Regions from separate parts of the Homo sapiens genome. Here all the other regions are linked to region 1. Evidence: promoter capture Hi-C in 16 types of primary human blood cells and fetal thymus (Javierre and others, 2016). All regions are on one chromosome and are shown on one strand. Each heading gives the region's core, a stretch centred on a gene start or on the middle of the fragment in contact. The rest is flanking DNA. Distances are from core to core; before and after follow the strand shown. Region 1 holds the start of RNF40 (ring finger protein 40). Region 2 holds the start of ARMC5 (armadillo repeat containing 5). Region 3 holds the start of GDPD3 (glycerophosphodiester phosphodiesterase domain containing 3).

What was found. The method cuts DNA at HindIII sites, captures the fragments that hold promoters and counts their contacts. A CHiCAGO score of 5 or more calls a contact.
Region 2: a fragment that was not itself captured here is called in contact with the fragment with the promoter of RNF40 in region 1 in 2 of 17 cell types (fetal thymus and erythroblasts); the score reaches 7.6 in fetal thymus.
Region 3: a contact is called between the fragment with the promoter of GDPD3 here and the fragment with the promoter of RNF40 in region 1, in 2 of 17 cell types (naive CD8 T cells and naive B cells). The highest score is 7.3, in naive CD8 T cells.

What each region holds. Positions count from the first base shown.
Region 1 is chr16:30,760,570-30,764,490 of GRCh38, forward strand. It overlaps RNF40 (ring finger protein 40), which reads left to right and starts at 1,753. Exons shown (of 20, transcript NM_014771.4): 1 at 1,753-1,791; 2 at 1,906-2,108; 3 at 2,549-2,716; 4 at 2,849-2,990; 5 at 3,610-3,816. The coding sequence starts at 1,977. PHKG2 (phosphorylase kinase catalytic subunit gamma 2) reads left to right here. Exons shown (of 10, transcript NM_000294.3): 10 at 1-607. CFAP119 (cilia and flagella associated protein 119) reads right to left here and starts at 1,493. Exons shown (of 9, transcript NM_001014979.3): 1 at 976-1,493; 2 at 629-660; 3 at 37-99. The coding sequence starts at 1,179. RefSeq lists enhancers at 1-617, 582-731, 1,322-1,501, 1,457-2,094, 1,582-1,841 and 3 more and a silencer at 816-1,045. The HindIII fragment of the contact is 4,015 bases long and covers 1-3,390 here.
Region 2 is chr16:31,458,022-31,461,942 of GRCh38, forward strand. It overlaps ARMC5 (armadillo repeat containing 5), which reads left to right and starts at 1,480. Exons shown (of 6, transcript NM_001105247.2): 1 at 1,480-1,978; 2 at 3,901-3,921. The coding sequence starts at 1,504. RefSeq lists enhancers at 610-1,150, 1,149-1,488 and a silencer at 1,679-2,028. The HindIII fragment of the contact is 2,362 bases long and covers 456-2,817 here.
Region 3 is chr16:30,111,470-30,115,390 of GRCh38, forward strand. It overlaps GDPD3 (glycerophosphodiester phosphodiesterase domain containing 3), which reads right to left and starts at 2,068. Exons shown (of 10, transcript NM_024307.3): 1 at 1,871-2,068; 2 at 1,553-1,595; 3 at 1,189-1,324; 4 at 1,054-1,099; 5 at 837-955; 6 at 663-752; 7 at 1-52. The coding sequence starts at 2,009. It overlaps MAPK3 (mitogen-activated protein kinase 3), which reads right to left. Exons shown (of 9, transcript NM_002746.3): 9 at 2,636-3,239. RefSeq lists a silencer at 2,039-2,333. The HindIII fragment of the contact is 12,096 bases long and covers 1-3,921 here.

The sequences.
Region 1 (3,921 bases), core at 503-3,002:
GCCAAGAGCTCTTCCCACGCCCCCCTCAGTCCCTACTCCCTCATCTCAGCATTGGTGGTCTTCTCCAGCTGGTGCATGGAATGGACGTCCAGGTACTTCCTGTTATAGTAAAAGAAAAAGAGTATTGGTGGCCGTTACCTATCATGACAAGGCTGTGACAGCTAGTGCGTGAGACTGGGAGTTGGCCACCGGCGTGAAGCTGGGCTCTTTTGCCAGCTTGCTGTGTGACTATGCAAATCGTTAACTCTCTGGGCCTAAATGAACTCTTATGAGCCTCTCCATTTCTAAAGCCTAGGGTTAGGAATCTTGAATTCTTTTTTCTGCTCTGCCACTACCTTGTATGACCTTGGTCAAGTACTCCCTGTGGCCCTCAGTGTCCCCCTCTGTACAATACTCCTTAGCGGCCATGAGACTCCATTTACATTCTGTCTTTGGCTCTTTTTTTCTCACACTGCCTCCTCTTTGGACTGGAGAGGCTGGAAAGCCAACTTCCAGTCACCTGGAGTAATTGCATCTCCAGGCCTCAGTCTCATCTGTAAAATGGGGATGCCCTGGCCACAGACAGGACTGTTGGGGAGACAATAAAGAACGCAAATATTCAGTGTAATTTTTGTCTCTTCACACTCACCACATGCAGATCCGGGGTCGGGGCAGCGGCGGCTGCGGAAAGAAAGCGAATTGGGGAAGGCAGCTGCGGTGTCCTGGCCCGTAGCGAATCTCCAGCAGGCCGGAGAAGCCGCTGTAACTTGCCATCTCATCTCAAGGACTAAGGAGAGGCGCGGGCGAGGGAGGGCTTCAGCAGGCCCTAGGTGCTCTACGCGAGCACAGTAACCACCGGGGTCACACACCCCTGCCTCTCCTCGCCCAAGCAGCCCGGGAGACGTCCCGAACGTTAGTAAGCATAATGACAGGTGGCGCCTGCGGGGGAGCCGGTTTATAAATATTCACGAGCAGACCAGACTGTCCCGCCCTCACCGGAAACAAGTTGGCTCCGGGGTCTTCATCCGCTTTCGCCGCCGCCGCCGTCGTCCACTGAGTCCGCACACTCGCACGCGTCCGCGCGGCCGACCCATGCACTGAGCTGCGATCCTTCCCCGCTTCCCGCCGCAGCTCGGAGAGATGTTCAAGCTCCGACTGCACCCTCATTCCCAAAAAGTGGCTGGTCTTGCGGTTGAGCATCTCGCCGCTCTTCCGTGCCGCGAGGCGCCCCGGGCTCCCGCCGCCTAGGTTCCAGGACAGCCAGCGCTCGGTCGGCGGCTACCAAGGCCGGGCCCGTTCGCCTCGCTCCGGCCAATCTACGCGCGGAGAGGCGCGGCGGGGCGAATCCGTGGGGGCGTCTCCCTCCGTCTCAACGGCGACGGTTGCCAAGGGGGCTTGTGAGGGAAGGAAGGCGGAAAGCGCAGGCTCACGCCAGTGGGAGCGAAGAGAACGCGCAGATACGTGAGAAGTTGCGAGTGCCCACCTGGGCGCCCTCTCTTCCAGGTTGCTAATACGAGGGCCGGTGCTGTCCTCCAGGCTGGGAAGTGGGAGCGCGGTGTCAGTTACTATGGGAACTGCCTCTTGGCCAATCACCGAGAGAAAGAGGAGGTGTTTGGGAAGAAGCCAGAGGACCCGAGTGGCGGGACCAAGCGTAACCAATAGAAGCAGAAGATAAAGAAGTTTCCTCACATCCGGGGCTGCCTTTGGCGCCTGCGCCCTGCGCACCGTTGGGGGGGGGGCAGTGGCGTCCAGTGACGCCCAGTGACGTCCGGTGAAATCCAAGATGGCGGCGCTAGGCTGACCCTCCTGCTGGTGAGGGCTCTGGCGCCGGGGGGGACGGGATCCAGCAGGTGTGTGCAGGGTGGAGGGTGTTTGGGGCTGTGGAACACCAGCCGTTCCCACATCTCTGCTCTGTGTCTTCTGCAGGTGACGGAAGTACCGCCTCCTCCCGTTTGACGCCCCTCAGGGGACCCTGCATCGCTCCAGCCGCCGCGGCCATGTCTGGGCCAGGCAACAAACGCGCCGCCGGCGACGGGGGCTCAGGGCCCCCGGAAAAGAAGCTGAGTCGTGAGGAGAAGACCACCACGACTCTTATCGAGCCCATTCGTCTTGGAGGCATCTCTTCCACGGTTCGTGGGCTCTTGCCTTAACCCTCAGAACTTCCCAGAGCCCTCCCTCTGTTCTCTGGCCAAACTGTGCGGAATCTTACACCCACTTCCCCAAGTTTAGCAAGGTCCGCGTTACAGGACCTTGAAAGAAAGGTTAGAAAGAAGCTCAGAACACGACGCCTGTCTTCCCTTTACAGATAGGAAAACAGGTTTCCAGGGGGCGTGTGACTTGTCAAAGACTAAGGATTTACAAGGGGACAGGCAGAAACAACGTGAGCCTCCTCACAACAAAGACACTTTCGCTGTGTGTTGTCTGAGCCTCCTTAGATTCTGTTAGCGGTTAGTGTGGGAATACCTCCATCTCCCATGCATTGCAGATGCTCTGCTCCTCTTTCTCTCTCTGTGATTGGTTTGTGGGCCCTGCTTGACGCTCTCGTCGGCCCCTTTGTTTCCTTTGGTAGGAGGAGATGGACCTGAAGGTACTACAGTTCAAGAACAAGAAACTGGCAGAGCGGCTGGAACAACGGCAGGCTTGTGAAGATGAACTCCGAGAACGAATTGAGAAGTTGGAGAAGCGGCAGGCCACAGATGATGCCACACTCCTCATCGTCAATCGCTACTGGGCCCAGGTGGATACCTTCTGCTTTCAAAGACCAGGCCTTGATTCAGCTGCCAATCCCCAGATTCCCCTGCTAGGAAAGGAGTATCATGTTGGAAAGCACTAAGGGATTCATAACATTTTTGATGTTTTCTCCTTCCAGCTGGATGAAACTGTGGAAGCCCTTCTCCGATGCCATGAGAGCCAGGGGGAGCTGTCTTCAGCGCCTGAGGCACCTGGGACCCAGGAGGGGCCAACATGTGATGGGACTCCTCTCCCAGAGCCGGGGACATCAGAGCTGAGAGGTAGGACCAGAGTGCTGGGATCTGGGGAGCTTAAGTTCTGGGAGAAGTCCTGGGGAGGAGGGGACTTTGGTGTTGGGCCCCTGAATTGCCTATCTTACTACTTCTCACGAAATGGATTTCATGTTTGGGCAGTAAAGTGCAGTGCACAAAAACACAGGCTTTAGACTCTGACTAACTTGGTTTATAGAGCAATTCATGTTTTGACACCCATTTGTTTCAAAACAGTATTATGGTTGAGTATTAAATATGTATTTGACGCTTCCTAGAAATGAGTGTTGCACTTGCTATAAGGGAGGAAATTATAAACATAGTAAGCAGAAAGTACTGGGGCTCCTGAAACGGAATGATTGTGTGTGCATGCATGTGCGTGTGATTCTAATTATATTGGTAAAGTACAGGAAGCTTCCCTGAGGATGTGATACGCAACTCTGTAGCTTTGAGGAAATTACTTTACCTCCCTGAATTTCATTTGTCTCACTTTCAGGATGGAGATAATAGTGCACTATAGGTTGTGTTGATTAAGTGAACCATGAGTATTGAAGGGCTCAGTCTGGAACTTGGTACAGAGTGGTAGTAACTGCTGCTCTTATCCTCATGAGGGTCTGTCCATTCCTTCCAGACCCCTTGCTGATGCAGCTGCGGCCCCCTCTCAGTGAGCCGGCCTTGGCTTTTGTGGTGGCACTGGGTGCCAGCAGCAGTGAGGAGGTGGAGCTGGAGCTGCAAGGCCGAATGGAGTTCTCCAAGGCAGCTGTGTCTCGTGTGGTAGAGGCCTCAGACCGCCTACAGCGCCGGGTGGAGGAACTCTGTCAGCGAGTGTACAGCCGAGGTGGGTTCTTTGTGCCCATACTGAAGGGGTGTCCATCCCCACCTGCATCTTGATGGCACCCCTTCCTGATTCCCCTAATGCCCGAGTCCAAGGGCGGCCAGAATT
Region 2 (3,921 bases), core at 387-2,886, 700 kb after region 1:
CGCTAGGGCCCTGCCACACTGCAGGCAGACGCAGGGGTGCTGCTGTGGGCCGCCTAGTGGATGGGCAGGTGGGAGCTGTGGCCGAAGGTCTGGCCACACTCACCACCAAGCATCAGGTTTCCGGACTTTGTGACTGTGCTGGTGCCGCAGCAGATTCCAACTGTGCACAAAACTCTTACTACAAACAAGGCACTTAGAGGCCTTCTCACCCATGTGGAGCGCAGGTGCTGCAACAGGGTGGAGCCAAGGCTGAGACTCTTGCCGCAGTCCCCTCAGCGGTAAGGCTTTTAGCGGTGTGAGCGCGCTGGTGCTGGATCAGGTTGGAGCTGACGCTGAAAGTCTTACCACACTAGGCACAGGCATAGGGCCGAAGCGATGGTCACACTCGGGGCAGGAGTACGGCTTTTCACCGGTGTGTACCCAGTGGTGCTTAACCAGATCAGAGCCACATCGGAAGCTTCTGCCATAACCCGGACAACGGTAAGGCTTGTCACCAGAGGGGCTGCCTTGGTGGTGAATGAAGCCGGGGAGGCAGGCTGTGGTCAGTCCACATTTCCGGCACTCGCAGGTTTTGGGGCTTGTAGACGGTTGCTCTTGGCAAAGGCTTCTTCCTCCCCAGGGCTAGAGCCTGACCATTTTCCGGGCGGGCAGCTGCCCCGACCACACCAGGAAGGGCTGCTCAGGCGGAGCCACCTCGCAATCCAGGGGTGACCTGGGGGCTCCCCGGGACGCGAATGTCCCGCTCCCCCGCCGCCCCGCCCCGTCCGGATTCTCCCTCGCCTCTTCTGGCGCGGCCGACTGCGCTGCGAGTGAAGAACTCCCCGTTTCCTAGATGCCAGCTCCTGAGCTCACGAGCACGTCCAGAGCGGAGGACACTCGGGACACCGGGGTCCAGCTCCGGAAACGGAAAATTCCACAAGCCCGTCACTCTAGGAAGCGGCAGCGAACGTTCTCGGTAGGTTTAACCCTCTTCTTCCTCTGACCGAGCGAGGGCTCCCCGTCTGCGGCGCGGTCAGGACCCCGCACTTTCGGCCCGGCTCGGGGTTCTCGGAGTCCGTCCCAAGGCCGGGCCGCACCACCGCTGGGGGGCAGCGAAGCGAGCCTAGAGGAGAAAAGGCGGTCCCCGCCGAGTGCACGCCGGGGGCGGGGCACGGCACGAAGGCTCCGTGGTCGGACTTCTGGGCTGTTCGGAGGCCCTGGCCCACCTGGAGGGCCCTGGAAGAGTTTCCAGCGCTTCCCGAGGTAGGCGTGAGAAGCTCGACGCGGACCACATCTCCCTCATGCACCGCCCGCACGTCCCAGGATGCGCTGCGATTAAGGTACTGCCGCGCCTCGTGTGCAAGGACAGACTTCCGGGGTCGAGAACTACAACTTCCGACTTGCATCACTGCGGTGGCGCTAAACAGCGTCAGCGAGGCGGTGCCCGACGATTTCCCTGTCTTCCAGTTCCGCTCCCTGGGATCAGCGGCGAGAAGCGGGGCGGAGTCTGAGGCCCGAGCCAAGATGGCGGCTGCGAAGCCAACCCTCACGGACTCGCTCTCGTTCTGCCTCGCGCAGCTCGCGGCGGCGGCCGGGGAGGCTCTGGGTGGGGAAAAGGACCCAGCGACCAACGAGACACCCCTGAGCCGCGCGCTCCTAGCCCTCCGCACGCGCCACATCAAGGCAGCGGGGGGAATCGAGCGCTTCCGGGCACGCGGCGGGCTCCGCCCCCTACTCGCGCTGCTACGGCGAGCGGCTGCAGCGGGTTCCGCCCCGTCCCAGGCAGGCCCCGGCTCCGCCCCCTCGTCGGCCGCGTCGGGAGCTTCTAGCCCCGCCCCCGCGTCGGGCCCCGCCCCCTCCGCTGTGTCGTCGTCTAGTCCTACGCCGCCAGTGCGCCTGCGCAAGACGCTGGACTTGGCGCTCAGCATCCTAGCCGATTGCTGTACGGAAGGGGCGTGCCGGACCGAAGTGCGCAGACTCGGAGGCATACTCCCTTTGGGTAAGTGCTCCGCCCCCGTTTCCTAGAAAGATTAGGTTTGCAACTCCCTTGCTCTCTAGACCCGGGCAGTCTGGAGTTCTTTGTGTCCTATCCCGGAATAACGTGCTTTGTGATGGCGCATCGCTCCTGTTTCTCAATCTGTTGTGCCCCGTGACGTCACTGCACTCTCTATAGATGAGAGAGAGCCCTCCCAGACCAGATAATTGTAGCCATTATCTAGGAATTGGTTGTTGAGGACTTCTTTCGAAGCTGGACTAGCGGAGGCCAAAGAGTTATTTGGTGATTTTTTCAGATGATTCTTACCGTCCAGTTATGATGTTCATAGCAGACATTCAGTGCCCAACTATGTGTCCGGCCCTGTGCAAGGTTCTGAAGCCCCACTGATGAGCTGGAAGGTGTAGTGGTTCAGAAAGGGAGATCTGCAAAAGTCACCTAACCCCTCCGAGGCTAGGATTCCTTGTAAAATGGGGCAATAATAGCTACCTAAAAAAATCAGAGTGGGGAGAAAACGAAGTACAAATATGGCACGAATATGCAAATATTCTAAGCATGATACGTATTTCAAGTTATTAAAAACTAGCATAAGCTGGGTGCAGTGGTACGCGCCTGTAGTTCCAGCTATTTGGGAGGCTGAGGCGGGAGGATCCCTTGAGCCTAGGAGGTTGAGGCTGCAGTGAACAATGACTGCCTGTGAATAGCCACTGCATTCCAGCCTGGGCAACGTAACAAGACCTCGTATCTTAGAAAACCAAACAAATCAGTAGTCGCTTAGGAAGCAGGAAAAAATAAATAAAAATAATTAAAACCAGCACAGTAAGAACAAATCCTAGCAAAACATAAGCTTTTCTGTTTACCAGCTAAATTGGTGCCTCCTAGTGGCAATGTGTGAAAGCAGTTTACATGTCACTACCTGCCTTCCACGAAATTATGCTAGTTTTGATGACATCTTAACTTTTCGGATAAAGGGAAGCATTAATATATTTAAAATTTACATAAAATGTATCTGGACCATATATGTTTGACAAGAGCTTTGGTTATTAAATAACCCCCATCATTCAGCTACTATTTTTCATCTTAAATATCTTCTGAATTTATCTGCTTCTCTCTCTTCCTACTTCCATTGTGTGCCCAGAGACTGGTATCTCTGTGCTGTGTGATGCCAGTAGCTGGGTTGGTTCAAGCTATTGTCTTTTCATGCTTGGACTATTATGACAGCCTTTTGACTCCCCCCTTCCTATTCTTTCCCCATAATGCATTCTCCCTATGGATGTCAGATTGTATCGTGTCACTCCCCTTCATAAAACCCTTGTGTGGCCCCCAGTGCCTTCACATTCAAGTCCTGACCCCTTGGCCTGACATTTGAAGCCTTTCACAGACACTGTATCTTACCTCTGGGCCTTTGGAAAGGCTGCTTCCAAACCTGAAATGCCTTCTCACACCCCCATCCACCGTGCTTCTGGCAAATACCTTCCTGTGTACCCCTCCAGACCCAGCCCGAGTGTTAGCCTCTTTCTTTTTATTTTTTTGAGATGGAGTCTTGCTCTGTCATCCAGGCTGGAGTGCAGTGACACGATCTCAGCTTACTGCAACCTCTGCCTCCTGGGTTCAAGCAATTCTCCTGCCACAGCCTCCCGGGTAGCTGGGATTACAGGCGTGTACCACCATGCCCAGATAATTTTTGTATTTTTAGTAGAGATGGGGTTTGGCCCCGTTGGCCAGGCTGGTCTTGAACTCCTGACCTCAAGTGACCCACCCACCTTGGTCCCCCAAAGTGCTAGGATTACAGGCTTGAGCCACGGTGCCCTGCCGACCATTAGCCTCTTCTGAAAGCCTTCCAGGCCCTCTCAGGCCACATTCTCCAGGTTATTGATGTGAGAGACAGTAAGGGGTAGAACCCTCACAAGCCCAAACTGTCGTTGCAGTGACCATTCTTCAGTGCATGA
Region 3 (3,921 bases), core at 818-3,317, 650 kb before region 1:
GCAGCACCCAGAATCCTCGGCTTATTGTGAAGGACAGGGGCATCTCGGGGTTCTGGGGAGGCAAGGAGAGGCATGAGAATCTGTCTGCTCTGGGGAAGCAGAGAGGAGGCATGAGCTGCAGGGGAGCCGTGGTGGGCATTCCAGAGGCCCTACTACCTGCAGGATCCAAGTCACATCTTGGGGCTGGGTGTGGTGGCTCACGCCTGTAACCTCAGCAGTTTGGGAGGCTGAGGCAGGTGGATCACCTGAGATCAGGAGTTCAAGACCAGCCTGGCTAACATGGTAAAACCCCATCTCTACTAAAAATACAAAAATTAGCTGGGCGTGGTGGCGTGCACCTGTAATCCCAGCTACTCGGGAGGCTGAAGCATGAGAATCGCTTGAACCCAGGAGGCAGAGGTTGCAGTGAGCCGAGGTCGCACCACCGCACTCCAGCCTGGGCGACAGAGAGAGACTGTGTTTCAAAAAAGAAAAAAAACAAAAGTCACATCTTGGCTCTGTGTTCGAGGCCTGAGTTCACACCCTTTTCATTGCCACCGCCACGCCACTGGGAACTCTCCCAGACCCCTCTAGCTCGGGTCCCCATGCTGGGTGGGCTCCAGCTCTGGGGAGGAGGGGCCCCTGGAGGAGGAAGAGGACGGGGGAGGGGTGGGGGGACTCACGGCAGCCTTGCATTTCTTCATGACCGAGCTCTTCTCCGAGGCCCAGATGGTGATTTCATTACGGTCATAGCGTCTCACCAAGCCTGCTATCTGGGAGGAGGAGAAGGAGGTGAAGGGAGAGCCAGGCCTCTCTCACGCCCCCGGTGGCCGCCCTAGCCCTGCCTGCAGCACCACCTCACGGATGAGCTCTTCGTTCTTCCCTTTGATCTCTACGCTCATGGGTGTCCTTGGAAACCTCTGGAACAGGTCCTCCAGACGAACCATGCGCCGGTCTGACCCGTGAGCAAAGTGGCCTGGGGGTGGTGTGGGAAAAGGGGTCAGAGGGAAGCCAAGGCGGAGGTCCAAGGAAGGCAGGCATGGCCCAGGCAGGGCTCGAAGCCCTTGCTCTCACCTGGAGAGAAGTAAACCTCCAGCTTCTCCTTGTAGAGGGGCAGGTCCTGGGGAGGACAGGAAGGATGTCACTAGAGGCCCGCATTGGGCATGGTGACTCTCAGGGTGGGGGTTGGGGTGTCAGGGCAGGGCCCACCTCGAAGTCCAGGCTGCCCACATCCCTGTTTAGGCCCGACTGGCGGCACAGGTTCTCATCATGTGACACCACCACCACTCTGTCCCGTGTCAGCTGACAGTCGAGCTCCAGGAGGTCCGAGCGCTGGGCCATGGAGCTGTGGGGGTGAAGGTCAGCGGGGGGCAGGGGCAGGGGACTGGGATGAGGGGCATGGTGGCTGGGAGGTGGCCGGGAATGTGAGAGCGGAGTTCGTGGCGGGATGTGCAGGCCACCTCCAGGGGGCGCCAGTCACCCAGCTAGGAAGTGAATGGCGTCCCTTGCTGTGATGCAGTCCACGACCTGCACACCCTCACATGGCAGCCTGGGCAGGGGCAGATACACTCACTTCTCCATGGCCTCCATGGTGTTCTCCAGCAGCTCTCCAGATCCTGTGGGGGGCACTGGAGTGGGCCTCTGGGGCTTGGGGTCTAGGGGCCTGGCCCAACCTCATCACCCACATTCCCTCTCTGGGCTCCATCCTCCCTCTGGCCTCACCTCCCCAGCCAGCCCAGGCTGCGCCAGCATCTTCTTCCTCGTCCACACCCTGCCCTGCCACTTCGCTCTCCTTCTCTCTTGGTCCCTGCCCCGTTTCTAGCATGCCCCCTTGGACCTACCCCTCTGTGCTGTCCACTTTGGCACCTGTTCTCACCCCTACCCGGCTCACCTCCTCGGTGGGCCCCCAGGCGGATGCGGAAGGTGGGAGCCCTGGGCGTGTGCAGCAGATGAGGCCGGCGCAGGAAGAAGATGGAGAGCATGGCATAGCTGCCCAGGGCAGGGAGGGCATAGTACAGCAAAAGGCTCATGACCGTACTCCCACAGAAGCTCCTGCAGCCACACGCTCAGCCGTCCGCGGGACTGTGCTGCCTGCCTAGCCAGTGTGGGCCGGCTCTACTACTGGCCACTGCCACGCCCCTGGGACCTGCTGAGCCTGCCGCTGGGCTGGCTTGGAGCCAGGCTGCAGGGTTCGGCTGAAGCTGGGGTAGTGTCAGGAGGTGAGGCAAGTAGCCCTGGCTCTCATATCCCCAGGCCCTTCCCAGCCCCCAGCAGCCCCGTCCTGGGCTACATGAGGGGAGTAAAAACCACCCAGGACTGTCAGGACCTCTCCCTCTCACTGGTACTTGTAGCCAGCGCATCCAACATGCCTACCCCTTGCCATTTCAGAGGATCCAGGGGTGTGTAGGGTGCTCCTGAGTCACCCCGAATCACCCCCAGCCAGTTAGACAGGAAGCCATTAGCGAGAGGACAGGACAGTGACTAAGGGGAAAACTGACCCCCTTCTTTCTAGGAGTCTGGAGCTCTCCAGAGCCCCGTCCCCAGCCCTGGGCAGCTGGGAGTGAAGGGCACCAGGCCCCTGAAAGCCCAAGTCAAGTCTGTCCTCAGAGCCGCACGGGGCAGGGCGGGGGCGTCGCGAACACAGACAGAGCCAGGGTCAGCCATAGACACATCTCTATATTTATATATTAGACGGGTCAGGGAGGTGGCAGGGGCGCCGGGCTCTCCACGCCCCCCAGCTCCACTTCTGCTCACCACACACAGAAGCAGCGAGGGCACGCGAAGTGACAGCTTTGACAGGGAGGGGATTCGGCCCGGCCTGGCTCCTCAGGGATGCTAGCCCTTGAGACTAAGGAATGTTCCTTCAGGGAAACTAGGGTGGGGTTTGAATGAGATGAGGGGGGCAGGCATGGCCCTGAGTCCCTACTCAGCGCCCCCCACCCTCCACCTCTGCCCTTCAGCAGGTTGGGGCAGCCAGAACCCTTCCATTCCAGAACTGCCAGAGACTGGGACGCTGGGGAAGGTAAGGGCGCAGCAGCAGCAGCGGGAGATTGAACTGGGGCCACCTGAGGTCCCGAGGCCCCGTGGGGAGGGCGGGTGGGGAGGAGAAGGCCTTGGCCTGCCTGAAGCTGGAGGCCTCAGCAAAGGAGAGAGGTGGCCAGGCCCATGCTCCACCCCGGCCTGGGCTGCCAAGGTCCGGGCTGGGCACAGTGTCCATTTTCTAACAGTCTGGCGGGAGAGGGGCAGGCAGGAGGCAGGTCCTAAAGAGAGAAGCAGGCAGAAGAGGAGTCGTTAGCACCCCCCGGGCAGACCCACTGGAGCCCTGACCTCAACATCTCTCATTTCACCCTCACAGCTGGATAGGCTGGGTCTCAGTTTCCTTATCTGTAAATGGAGATAATAATAGTACCTAGCTTGAGGTACTGCTGTAAGATTAAAGGAATTAATACATGTAAACCTCTTAGAACAATGCTTAGGGCTTTATGCTTTCATTATTAGAACTGTCTCGGCCGGGCACAGTGGCTCACGCCTATAATCCCAGCACTTTGAGAAGCTGAGGTGGTGGATCGCTTGAGCCCAGGAGTTTGAGACTGGCCTGGGCAACATAGCAAGACCCCAGCTCCACAAAAAAAAAAAAAAAAAATTAGCCGGTTGCAATGGCTCGTCCAGCTAGCTGGGAGGATCCCTTGCACCCAGGAGTTTTGAGGCTGCAGTGAGCTATGATTGCACCACTGCATTCCAGCCTGGGTGACAGAGCGAGACACTGTCTCAAAAAAACAAAACCAAAAAAAAAGATAAATAGATTGACTCCGGAAACTGAGGCGCCGAGAGGTGAGGTGCCTTGCCCAATATCACACAGCACTTACTAAGTGGCACAGCTGGAGTTTGAGCCCAGGTGCGCATGCCTTCTTTCTATCAGGCCACACCTGGCTGAAGACAGGA